2 separate regions of the Homo sapiens genome follow, and region 1 is linked to region 2. The links are contacts of gene promoters, found by promoter capture Hi-C in blood cells and fetal thymus (Javierre and others, 2016). All regions are on one chromosome and are shown on one strand. The core of a region is centred on a gene start or on the middle of the fragment in contact, and the rest is flanking DNA. Distances in the headings are between cores, read along the strand shown. Region 1 overlaps UPB1 (beta-ureidopropionase 1). Region 2 holds the start of SPECC1L-ADORA2A (SPECC1L-ADORA2A readthrough (NMD candidate)).

The links. The method cuts DNA at HindIII sites, captures the fragments that hold promoters and counts their contacts. A CHiCAGO score of 5 or more calls a contact.
Region 1: a fragment that was not itself captured here is called in contact with the fragment with the promoter of SPECC1L-ADORA2A in region 2 in 1 of 17 cell types (erythroblasts); the score reaches 7.3 in erythroblasts.

Annotation. Positions count from the first base shown.
Region 1 is chr22:24,507,651-24,513,856 of GRCh38, forward strand. It overlaps UPB1 (beta-ureidopropionase 1), which reads left to right. Exons shown (of 10, transcript NM_016327.3): 4 at 3,099-3,193; 5 at 5,674-5,835. Among named protein-coding and RNA genes, the nearest start is that of UPB1, 15 kb to the left of the region's middle. RefSeq lists a silencer at 1,796-2,069. The HindIII fragment of the contact is 438 bases long and covers 3,129-3,566 here.
Region 2 is chr22:24,266,142-24,272,091 of GRCh38, forward strand. SPECC1L-ADORA2A (SPECC1L-ADORA2A readthrough (NMD candidate)) reads left to right here and starts at 4,676. Exons shown (of 20, transcript NR_103546.1): 1 at 4,676-4,842. SPECC1L (sperm antigen with calponin homology and coiled-coil domains 1 like) reads left to right here and starts at 4,690. Exons shown (of 17, transcript NM_015330.6): 1 at 4,690-4,842. It also overlaps the pseudogene RPS10P29. RefSeq lists a silencer at 4,479-5,008 and an enhancer at 5,069-5,148. The HindIII fragment of the contact is 24,380 bases long and covers 1-5,753 here.

The DNA.
Region 1 (6,206 bases), core at 2,098-4,597, 240 kb after region 2:
TCTAACCGAAAAGGCGGCTTAAAGAGCCAGGCCAGCAAGCTTTGATATGCAAATGTCGGCAATTAGAAACTAGGTCCACCCAACATGGCAATTCCTGCCCTCTTCTCCTTGTCACCACCTGTGCCAAGTGTCATGACCGCCTCCAGATAACTCATACATGTTCAGGACATCATGGCAGCTCACGTTTGCATATTAAAGGGCTAAGGTGGGAGGGCTAGATTTTTTGCGGGCTACTTGAATGTCACACCTGGTCAAACCAATCCCCTGGGCCCTATGCAAATCAGACCCCACCTCCTCCAGCCCCCCAATATAACCAACCACTTTTCCGCTGCACACCGGATTTCTCTTGGTTCAGACTCCCCTGGCCCCCTCCGCCGTATGGGGGAGCTGTTTTCTTCTTTCTACCAGGCACCATGCTTCACATATGCCTGGCATTTAGGAGATACTGTCTACAATTGTTAATTCTAAAGGGGTCTTAAGGCCCTCGCAGAGGCCAGTTAAACACTGCCCCATCACATCACACAGCTTCCTGCACACCCCCCTCAAGTTAGTTCAAAGTAGCTGGAACAATAGCAGACAACTGGAAACTTCTGTTAGGCTAATCCCTCTAAAAGTAATGGACTTGGGGCCAGATGTGGTGGCTCACGCCTGTAATCCCAGCACTTTCTGAGCCTGAGGTGGGCGAATCACCTGAGGTCAGGAGTTCGAAACCAGCCTGGCCAACATGGTGAAACCCTGTCTCTACTAAATATACAAAAATTAGCTGGATGTGGTGGCGGGCACCTGTAATCCCAGCTACTTGGGAGGCTGAGGCAGGAGAATCGCTTGAACCCAGGAGGTGGAGGTTGCAATGAGCCAAGATCGTGCCACTGCACTCCAGCCTGGGCAACGAGAGCGAGACTCCGTCTCAAAAAAGAAAAAAAAAGAAAGAAAGAAATGGACTTGGGCTGGGTGTGGTAGCTCATGTCTGTAATCCCAGCACTTTGGGAGGCCGAGGCAGCTGGATCACCTGAGGTCAGGAGTTTGAGACCAGCCTGGCCAACATGATGAAAACCCATCTCTACTAAAAATACAAAAAAAATTAGATGGGCATGGTGGTGGGCTCCTGTAATTTCAGCTACTTGGGAGGCTGAGGCAGAAGAATCGCTTGAACCCAGGAGGTGGAGGTTTCAGTGAGCCAAGATCGTGCCATTGCACTCCAGCCTGGGCAACAAGAACAAGACTCCATCTCAAAAGAAAAGAAAAAAAGAAAGAAATGCACTTGGGTTATTGTGAGGTGGGAGATCTACAAAGTATACTGAATTAGTCCAGACAAGGATTGAGTTCTCCACATTGAGAAAGAAAAAGACGAATAGCACAGTAGGAAATAGGCAAAGGGTATGAACAAAAAAATGTAGGGGAGGAATCCAGACTGGCCAGTGAATGTGTGGTGAGGGGTTCAGCCTCACCGGGGATATGGGAAACATTTACTCACAGTGAGGCACCGTTCACACCAGCAGACTGGCAGGTACTAAAGGTAACTCCATGCACTGCAGATATTCACGTGTGGCTGGGCTGTAGAGCAGCATTAGGCACATAGCCAAAGGTCCCAAGGGCCCACCCCAGCGGAGTCCCCTCCATCCCCTGCATAGGAGACTGCTCTGAACTTGGTGTGCATGGAGATGACCAGTATCTTTGAACTGTTAATCTGTGTGTATGTACCTACTGTTTGAAAAAAAAAAAAAAAAAAAAAAAAAAAAAAAAAAAGCAAAAACCAATGAGTCGAATGAAATTTCCTACTGAATTAGCTCCTAGGTGGGGCCTGGCCAGAGATCATGAGAATAAGAGCATTAATCCTTGCAGATGTTCATCCTGTCCAGTGGTTCCCAAACTTTTTGTGGGATCATTAATGAGTAGCTTTTCTTATTTCTGAAGAAGCCTCCTTGTCACTAGGAGGAGGGGGGGTCCCAGTGCCATCCCCAGCAGCCTTCTGATACTTTCCCCAAGGAGTCAATGGAGCTCCTGCCACCCTGCAGATTGGCCAACAGCATGAGATCTGCTGGTTGGGAACTTTGGCAATTTAAAACTTTTTGTGTGTGTGGCATATAGATATACATTAACAATATTTACCATTTTAACGTGTACAGTCTGTGGCATTAAATACATTCATGTTGTGCAACCATCATCACCATGATCTCCAGAACTTTTCTCATCATTCACAATTGGACACCTCTACCCATTAAACAGTAACTTCCCATTATCCCCTCTTCTGGCCTCTGACAGCTATTCTACTTTCTGTCATTAAGAATTTGACTACTCTAGGCTGGGCGTGGTGACTCACACCTGTAATCCCAGCACTTTGGGAGGCTGAGGTGGGCGGATCACCTGAGGTCGGGAGTTCAAGACCAGCCTGACCAACATGGAGAAACCCCATCTCTACTAAAAATACAAAATTAGCCAGGCATGGTGGCGCATACCTGTAATCCCATCTACTCGGGAAGGCTGAGGCAGGAGAATTGCTTGAACCTGGGAGGGGGAGGTTGAGGTGAGCCAAGATAGTGCCATTGTACTCTGGCCTGGGCAACAAGAGCAAAACTCCATCTCAAAAAAAAAAAAAAAAATTTGACTACTCTAAATACCTCCTATGAGTAGACGCCTACAGTATTTGTTTTGTGTCTTAGCATATTCTTAAAGGTTCATCCATGTAAGCATGCATCAGAATTTCTTCCCTTTTTAAAAGAGAGTTGACTGATATTCCATTGTGTATATATATATACCACATTTTACCTATCAGTTCATCTGTTGATAAGACACTTGGGTTGTTTCCATCTTTTGGCTATTGTGAATAATGTTCCTGTAAACATGAGTGTGCAAATATCTGTTCAAGTCCCTGCTGCAATTGTTTTTAAGACTTTGGGAAAGACATTTGGCCCAGCCCCTTGTTTTGCCATGAAGCCCAGAGGTAAGGGCTGCCCACAGCCAGGAACAGGACCCAGAAGCCAGGCCATGGCACTCCTGAGACTGTATTCTTTTGCAGTGACTTCCCGCTGCTGGGCTGAGGAGCCCCCCTCAGAGGCTGTGCATGTTGGATATAATTCTGCCCTTTCTCCTATTTATAGCTATGCCCTTTGCCTTCTGTACGAGAGAGAAGCTTCCTTGGACAGAATTTGCTGAGTCAGCAGAGGATGGGCCCACCACCAGATTCTGTCAGAAGGTAGGACATTAACGGTGCCTCTGGCAGCAGCTGCCAAATATGTGCAAGTCACAGAGCATGACCACAGCTGCCGGGTTTGGCCTTTCACCATGGAAAATGCACCCATTTGGTGCTTGTTTTGCCAGATAAGATTAGATAAGACTATCTGCCACTTTTTTTTTTAGCGTACTCTTAGAATTGGGGCGTGTAAGGCTCCAGAAGGGCCATTAGCTTTTTCAGGCAAGGGAGCTGCAGCCCAGGGAGGGTGGTCGGAGGTGACTTTTGTAGCAAGTCCCACAGCTGGCAAGTGGCAGAGCTGGCATTCAGGGACCAGAGAAGCCAGTTTCTCATCCAGAGCTCTGCATGCTCCACTGCAGTTTGCTTGAGTCACAGAAGCTTCGATGCATGGCCTGTGTCTCATCAGCATAGAAATTGGTTTTGATTTTTCTTCATTAAAACCTTATAATACATATTGTATGATCCCATTTATATAAACTGTCCAGAATAGGCAAATCCATAGAGACAGAAAGTAGATAAGTGGTGGCTAAGGGCTGGGGGTGAGGGAGGAAGGGAGTGACTGCTAATGGATACAAAGTTTCCGTTTAGGGTGATGAAAATGTTCTAAAATTAGATAGTGGTGAAGGTTGCACAACTCTGTGAATATCCTGAATACTACTGAATTGCACACTTCAAAAGAGTGACTCCTTGTTCTGCTGTTTCCCACCTCTCGCTACTGTACTTGACCAATCTTAAAGTGAATCTTATGCTCTGTGAATTATATATATATATATATATATTTTTTTTTTTTTGAGATGGAGTCTCACTCTGTTGCCCAGGTTGGAGTGCAGTGGCACGATCTCGGTTCACTGCAAGCTCTGCCTCCTGGGTTCACGCCATTCTCCTGCCTCAGCCTCCGGAGTAGCTGGGACTACAGGCGCCCGCCACCATGCCTGGCTAATTTTTTTTTGTATTTTTAGTAGAGACGGGGTTTCACCGTGTTAGCCAGGATGGTCTTGATCTCCTGACCTCGTGATCCGCCACCTCGGCCTCCCAAAGTGCTGGGATTATAGGCGTGAGCCACCGCACCTGGCCTGAATTATATCTTAATAAAACTGTTATCAGAAAACCCATGAGGTGACGAATGGTCATTTATCCTTATTTTCACCTCTAACACAATAACTCTTTTCATTTCTTTGTATTCTCTTTCAGGTTTTATACATATACTTAGGGGCTTTTGGGGCAGAGCTATAATCATGGTGACTTTATCAATACTCAGTTGTGATTCCAAACATCGATGTTCTCAGGCTGTAGGGGAAAAAAAAAAATCTCTCATTCACCAGGTTGTTGATTTCTTGCTATGGAAAAAAGAGGAAGGAGACTGGTTAGGGGACTTTTGCAGATGATAAGTCTGAGCCAGGGCTGGAGGAAGAGTGTGAAAGAGAGCTGGTGCCAGAGACACTCCGCCTCCACAGGGACCTGAGGCTGCCCTTAGCATGGCTCCTAGTGTTGCCTTCTGAGCATGCCTCTCCCCTATCCTGTTGTTAAGGCCAGAGATCATGACAGCTAATTAGAGTAGAGGACAAATGACCCGCTGGGCTGCTCATCCTGTGGTCACCAGGGACTGATGTTCTTACTTGAGACAAAAGGAATTTGATGCCAAAGAAATTTATTTTTGGCATAGATAAGTCGTTTGATTATTATTTTTATTCTTTTTTCAAGTGGTAAAATATACATATAAAATGTACTATTTTAACCACTTTTAAGTGCACAGTTCAGTAGTGTAAAGTATATTCACACTGTGCGGATCTCCAGAATTTTTGCATCTTGCAAATCTGACTCTGTCCCATTAAACAATAGCTCCCCATTCCCCCAGCCCCTGGCAACCACCGTTCTATTAATATTATAGTTTCCATTTCTGTGAGTTTGACTACTCTAGATACCTTACACAAGTGGAATCATACAGTATTTGTCTTTTTGGGACTGGCTTATTTCATTTAGCATAGTATCATCAAGGTTCATCCATGTGTAGCGTAGAACCGTGGCATCTAAGGCTGAATGATACTCCATTGTATGGATGTGCCATGTTTCATTTATCCATTCACCCATTGATGGGCACTTGGTTGGCTCCCACCTCTTTGCTATTGTGAATAATGCTGCAATGAATATGCGTTTGCAAATCTCTTCTGCTTTCAATACTTTTGGATATATACCCAGGATTAGGATTGCCAGATCAAATGGTAATTCTTGTTTAATTTTTTGAGGAACTCCCATATGGTTTTCCAGAGCAGCTGCACCATTTTACTCTACCACCAACTGTGTACAGGACAATGTGATTCTTATTTAGCAAAGCATGGACATCAGGGTATTTAGTGTTCCAAACAACAAATGCAAGTGGTTGCTCTGACCCAAGCCTATTGATTTAGTAGGATCATTCTTCTTTGATAAAAAACTACAACAATTGGTTTATAAGTGGGACTCTGCCATATTTATCATTTTTCCAGCTGGCGAAGAACCATGACATGGTGGTGGTGTCTCCCATCCTGGAACGAGACAGCGAGCATGGGGATGTTTTGTGGAATACAGCCGTGGTGATCTCCAATTCCGGAGCAGTCCTGGGAAAGACCAGGAAAAACCACATCCCCAGAGTGGGTGATTTCAACGAGGTGAGCCACCCATAAGATAGATAACCAGCCCTGCTCACTTGCCCCTCTGTATGTTGTAGATCTCTGTGGGACTTTCTGTGGGGAAGTTCTGTGCAGGATCATACTCCATGTCACGTACACTCCACGGGAGCACAGTGTGGCTGCAGTGCTCAGAGGGTTACCTGACATTGCCCTATATCACACAGGCAGACAGGATTCAGGCGGGACTCTCAGAGGAGTCCCAAACACCTTTAGCACAATGGGGCATATATTTTTTTAATACAACCTGATTTGGCCTCCTGAATTCTTTGAAGTAAGTGGTATATAAATTAAAACCAAAACTAAATATTGCACAAACATGAAATGATTCCTGTGGCCCCTTTCAGGCTCAG
Region 2 (5,950 bases), core at 3,426-5,925:
ATGGTGCAGACTGTGGCAAGTTGAGAACTTATGCCTCTGTAAAGGGGGCAGCCACCACTCATTTACTGCCGATTACTCTATCTTTGCTGAGGACAGTTGCACAGGTAGTGCACTGCAGAAGGGTAACACCTTAGAGGGGTGTCATTTGCATCATAGATGCAAAATTCACAGGCGAAGACTGATGTAGTTTGTCCCTAAAGTTTTGCTTTGATTTGCAGATATTTATCCATGGCAGTTTCCTGAAAGATGTCTATAGAAGGTTTTGAGGAATGGGCACCTTTTAATTTGCTACTAAACTAAACCCCAAGGGCCCATTATATGCCAGCACGGTCCTAGAGATTCCACACTCATTCAGTTCCTTTTCATCATAGGAAGTGGGCATTATAATATCAGGTCCACTGTAAGAGGTGGAGCCTGGGCATGGTGGCTCATGCCTATAATCCCAGCACTTTGGGAGGCCTACCTGTGCAGATCGCGGGAGCCCAGGAGTTTGAGACCAGCCTGGGCAACACGGTGAAACTCTGCCTTTACAACACATATAAAACGTTAGCTGGGCTTGGTGGCATGTCCCTGTAGTCCTAGCTATTCGGGAGGCTGAGATGGGAGGATCGCTTGAGCCTGGGAGGTCAAGGCTGCAGTGAGCCCAGATTGCACAACTATACTCCAGCTTAGGCCACAGAGCAAGACCTTGTCTCAAAAAATACAGTAAAATAATAAAAAGAAAGAAAGAGAAAGGAACAGATCAATAGGTACAATAAAGTAACGTTTGTATAAAAAAAGCAAAAGAACATATTTGTTTATTTGGATATTTGTTTATATTCATAAACTATCTCTAGAAAGATACCAAGAAACTGAATCTATTTGGTTGTATCTGAGAAACTACAGGAATAGGGATGGGGTTGAGATGGTGCCTTCTGAATTTTGAAATATACAAATGTATTGTCTATTTAGAAATAAATGGGCCAGGTGTGGTGGCTAGGCTGGGTGCGGTGGCTCTCGCTTGTAATCCTGGCACTTTGGGAGGTCGAGACTGACAGATCACTTGAGGTCAGGAGTTTGAGACCAGCCTGGCCAACATGGTGAAACTCCGTCTCTACTAAAAATATGAAAATGGCCAGGTGTGGTGGCTCACCCTGGTAATCCCAGCACTTTGGGAGGCTGAGGCGGGCGGATCACCTGAGGTCAGGAGTTCGAGAACAGCATGACCAACATGGAGAAACCCCATCTCTACTAAGAATATAAAATTAGCCTGGTGTAGTGGCGCATGCCTGTCATCCCAGCCACTCAGGAGGCTGAGGCAGGAGAATTGCTTGAACCCGGGAGATGGAGGTTGTGCCGAGCCGAGATTGCGCCATTATACTCCAGCCTGGGCAACAACAGCAAAACTTTGTCTCACAAAAAGAAACAACAACAACAGCAACAACAAAACACACACACAAAAATTAGCTGGGTGTGGTGGTGGGTGCCTATAATCCCAGTTACTCAGGAGGCTGAGGCACGAGAATTGCTTGAACCTGAGAGGCGGAGGTCGCAGTGAGCCAAGATCAGGCCACTGCACTCCAGCCTGGGCAATAGAGCAAGACTCAATCTCTAAATAAATATATAAAATAAATAAACAGTATTAAGACAAAAATCATAAGGACATTACATAAACCACGTTATGCCAGTGATTTTTTAAAATATCAAAACAGGCAGTTTTATAGAAAAATACAACTTCAGGCCAGGTGGGGTGCTTGTAATCCCAGCACTTTGGGAGGCCGAGGTTGGTGGATCACCTGATCTCAGGAGTTCGAGACCAGCCTGGCCAGCATAGCAAAACCCCAACTCTACCAAAAATACAAAAATTAGCTGGGCGTGGTGGCACATGCTTGTAACCCTAGCTACTTGGGAGGCTGAGGCGGGAGAATCACTTGAACCTGGGAGGAGGAGGTTGCAGTGAGCCAAGATCACGTGACTGCAACAGAGAAATTCTGTCTCAAAAGAAAAATATAACTTCATAAAAACGAAGTAGGGAGAAACAGAAAAGTTTGTCTAGATCTAGAACCATCAAAGGAATTGAATGTTTATTTTAAAATCTGTATCCCGGCCGGGCGCAGTGGCTCAAGCCTGTAATCCCAGCACTTTGGGAGGACGAGGTGGGCGGATCACAAGGTCAGAAGATCGAGACCATCCTGGCTAACATGGTGAAACCCCATCTCTACTAAAAATACAAAAAATTAGCCGGGCCTGGTGGTGGGTGCCTGTAGTCCCAGCTACTCGGGAGCCTGAGGCAGGAGAATGGCGTGAACCCGGGAGGCGGAGCTGGCAGTGAGCCGAGATGGTGCCACTGCACTCCAGCCTGGGCGACAGAGCGAGACTCCGTCTCAAAAAAAAAAAAAAAAAAAAAAAAATCTGTATCCCATCCCCTCAAAAATCTCACAAAAAAACAAAACCAAAGAAAAGTACCTGGCCCAGATGATTTTATGGACAGCAAACATTAAAAAGAACATAAAGTTTTTATCTTCTACATAATTTTTAAAAATTAATTATTTATTTTTGACAGAAAGTCTCGCTTTGTAGCCCAGACTGGAGTGCAGTGGCGTGATCTCTGCTCACTGCAACCTCTGCCTCCCAGGTTCAAGCAATTATCCTGCCTCAGCCTCCAGAGTAGCTGGGATTACAGGTGTGCCCGGCTAATTTTTTGTATTTTTAGTAGAGATGGGGTTTCACCATGTTGGCCAGGCTGTTCTTGAACTCCCGACCTCCGGTAATCCGCCCACCTCGGCCTCCCAAAATGCTAGTTTTACAAGCGTAGGCCACAGTGCCCAGCCTAGATAATCTTTCAGAAAAAGAAGCAAATGGAATTCTCCCCAACTCACTGTGAATTTAGTATAGGCTTAAAACCAAACCAGACATAAATAGTACAAGGAGGCAAAAGTATGGACTAACTTCTTATGGACATATATGCAAAAACGCTAAATAAAATATTAGCAAATAATCCAGCAATGGATTAAACATGTATCACGACCAAGTTGGGGTTTTCCTAGGAAACTAAGATTATGTAATAAAAGAAAAAACTATTAAAGTAGTACAAACTATCAAAGGAAAAAACCTGTATGATCATTGCAACAGGTTCATTTGCGACATAATACAATTTTTTTCTTTTTTTTTTTTTAAGTCTTTTTGGCTGTAAGTTTATTCAATGCAAAATAATCCTCTCCAATTCTACTGAGGTGGCTGACGGTGTCCACGACCAAATTTGCCTCTAAACTGGAATTCGGTTGCTGACCCAGCCCCAGCCTCGGCTTTCTTGTCGGCACCAGGGGGCACAGCACTCCTTCTGTAGGTATCTCTGTCGGCTTCTCCTCTTGTGAGTCTTGCAGGTCGCTCACCCTCCAGACCTTTAGACCGAGGCCTGCCAGTCCCTGGACGGCTGCGGCGTAGGGTGGCAGGCACAATCTCCAGGGGCAGATGAAGGTAATCACGGAGATACTGGATATCCTCATTGGTAAGGTACCAGTAGACATGTCTCCAGGCAAACTGTTCCTTCACGTAGTAGCCTCGGGACTACATGACAGGAAGGTTGGGCACACACATTCTTTTTTTTTTGAGAGGAGTCTCACTCTGTCGCCCAGGCTGGAGTGCAGGGGCGCGATCTCGGCTCACTGCAACCTCCGCCCCCTGGGTTCAAGCAATTCTCCTGCCTTGGCCTCCCGACTAGCTGGGATTACAGGTGTCTGCCACCGCGCCTGGCTAATATTTTTGTATTTTTAGTAGACACGGGTTTCACCATCTTGGCCAGGCTGGTCTTGAACTCCTGACCTCGTGATCCGCCCGCCTCGGCCTCCCAAAGTGCTGGGATTACAGGCCTAAGCCACCGCGCCCGGCCGGGCACATTCTTGTCTGCCAACTCCAGGTGCTTAGGCATGTGGACATCCTTCTTGACCACCGTGACTTCCTCTTTAAAAAGGAGTTCATAAATGGCAATCCGGTTTTTCTTAGGCATCAGCATTCTGGGGAGGAGCAGCCGCTAAGGTGGCAGGGTGGCCCGGATGGGGGCCGATGGAACTCGAACTCCCCCAGAATTTCTTTAATATTTTATATATATATATATATATATATACATATATATATGTATATATATACACATATATATACATATATATATACGTATATATATATGTATATATATACATATATATATACGTATATATATATACGTATATATATATGTATATACATATATATATACATATATGTTGCTCGCTTATTCTTTTTGTCTGTTCCCTTATGTACCGGGAGTGCCAGGAGGACAGGGCTTTGTGTTTTCCTCACTGCTGTCTGGCTCATGCATAGCACAGTCCTTGGCACACGGTAAACACGCTGAGGAGAACTTTTGGGACTAGCGGACTCTGAGCATCATTCCGCTGGGCCCAGTGGGGCCTCTGAAGGGACCCGCCTTGCCCGGCTCCAGCCCAAGACCTGAGGCATGCGCACCGGCTGGCCGGCTACTTTCTTGACCGGCCAAGTGGCAGAGCGGCTGCGCGACCCAGTGCCGAGACGGACGCGAGCCGGAGATGGGGGAAGGGGAGGGGGTGGTGGTGGGGGACGGCGGCGCCTGCGCAGTGAAGGAATGTAGGCGGGGCCTCCACGACGCCTGCGCAGACGGCCGCAGCCCTGCTGGGCGCGAAGGGGCTGGCCAAGGGCGGGGCCCGCGAGGGAGGCCGGGCGGCCCGGCAAGCGGCGCTGCGGGGTAGGCTGCTTTCCTGAGGCCGGACTCAACGGGTCTCGGCTGAGCCACCGGGTGAGCTCACCGCCCAGCCCAAACCAGGAGATTGCGAGGGAGCGATGCGGTGCAGCGCGGTAAGAGCAGCAGCCGGGTTCCCGCAGTGTTCGCTGGCGGGTTGGTTTATCGCCTCAGCGCCGCCCGCGCTGCCGCGCCCGGGCGTCCCCGCAGACCCCGGCAGGCCCAGCGCCTGCGCCGTCTCTGCTCCTGGGCCCCTCCAGTGTGTCCCGCGCCTGCGCCTTTCCCTTCCCGCGCCGTCCTCGTTCTGGGCTTCGGGGCTTCTGGAACAACCCGCAGGCTTCGCCGCCGAGACCCACTGGCCTTCGTCCGTTGGTGTTGGGGTTCAGCTGGTTCTGGGACCCCGCTTGCGGCTTGACTGTGTGCAGACAGGCCGGGTGCGACCCTCGTGCTTGCCTTTCCGCCGCTCCGGGAGAGGCTGGGGCTGCCGCCCCATCGCCCGGGTCCCTTGCCTGGGGCGGGGACAGCGTTGTTCAGTGGCCCCGAGGGCGCAGAGCGGAGGAGCAGGGGCCACAGGCGGCGGACCCCGGGCCTGCTGCCGGTGCTGCTTCTGCTGTGGCCGGCGCCCGAGGCGGACGGAACGTCCTTTTTTCTTGAGACGTGGTTAATTGCATCAGGTTGGATGTGAATAATCCGGTACCTGTCTGAGGAAATTTTGCGTTTCCAGGAATTTGGTAATTGTATTACCTTAAGTAGTTAAGTCTAAGACATCATAGTCGCGGCACGTTGGGCAAGCTGCCCTGGAGATGACGAAAAGAAATCAGTTTCCAGTAGTTTTAGCCCATTTACAGAACACGCAAAAATTCTGTGATCATTCAAATGCGGGGAACCTTGATTTGTTGATATCCTTGATCATTTGTCCAAGTACCAGAAGGGCGAGGAAAAGATTCCCGTGAACAGCCCAGGTGATTTCAGGGAACAGTGTTTTCTTTTGTCAAAAGAGCCTCTTAAGCCATGATAATATTTCCCAAGCTTATAACAGATACAAGCCTTTAAAAAATGGCATTTGCTGTCACCCAGTAGGACACATCTTGAGATGAAATCAGAGCTGTAGGCTTTGTAGACAACAGCAGTCATTTCTGGTGGCTTCAGGGAGTGGAGGGGGACTGCAATTTTGCCAATGTAGGTGATACCAAAGGGACTATAGTAATTTTTTCTTCGTAATTA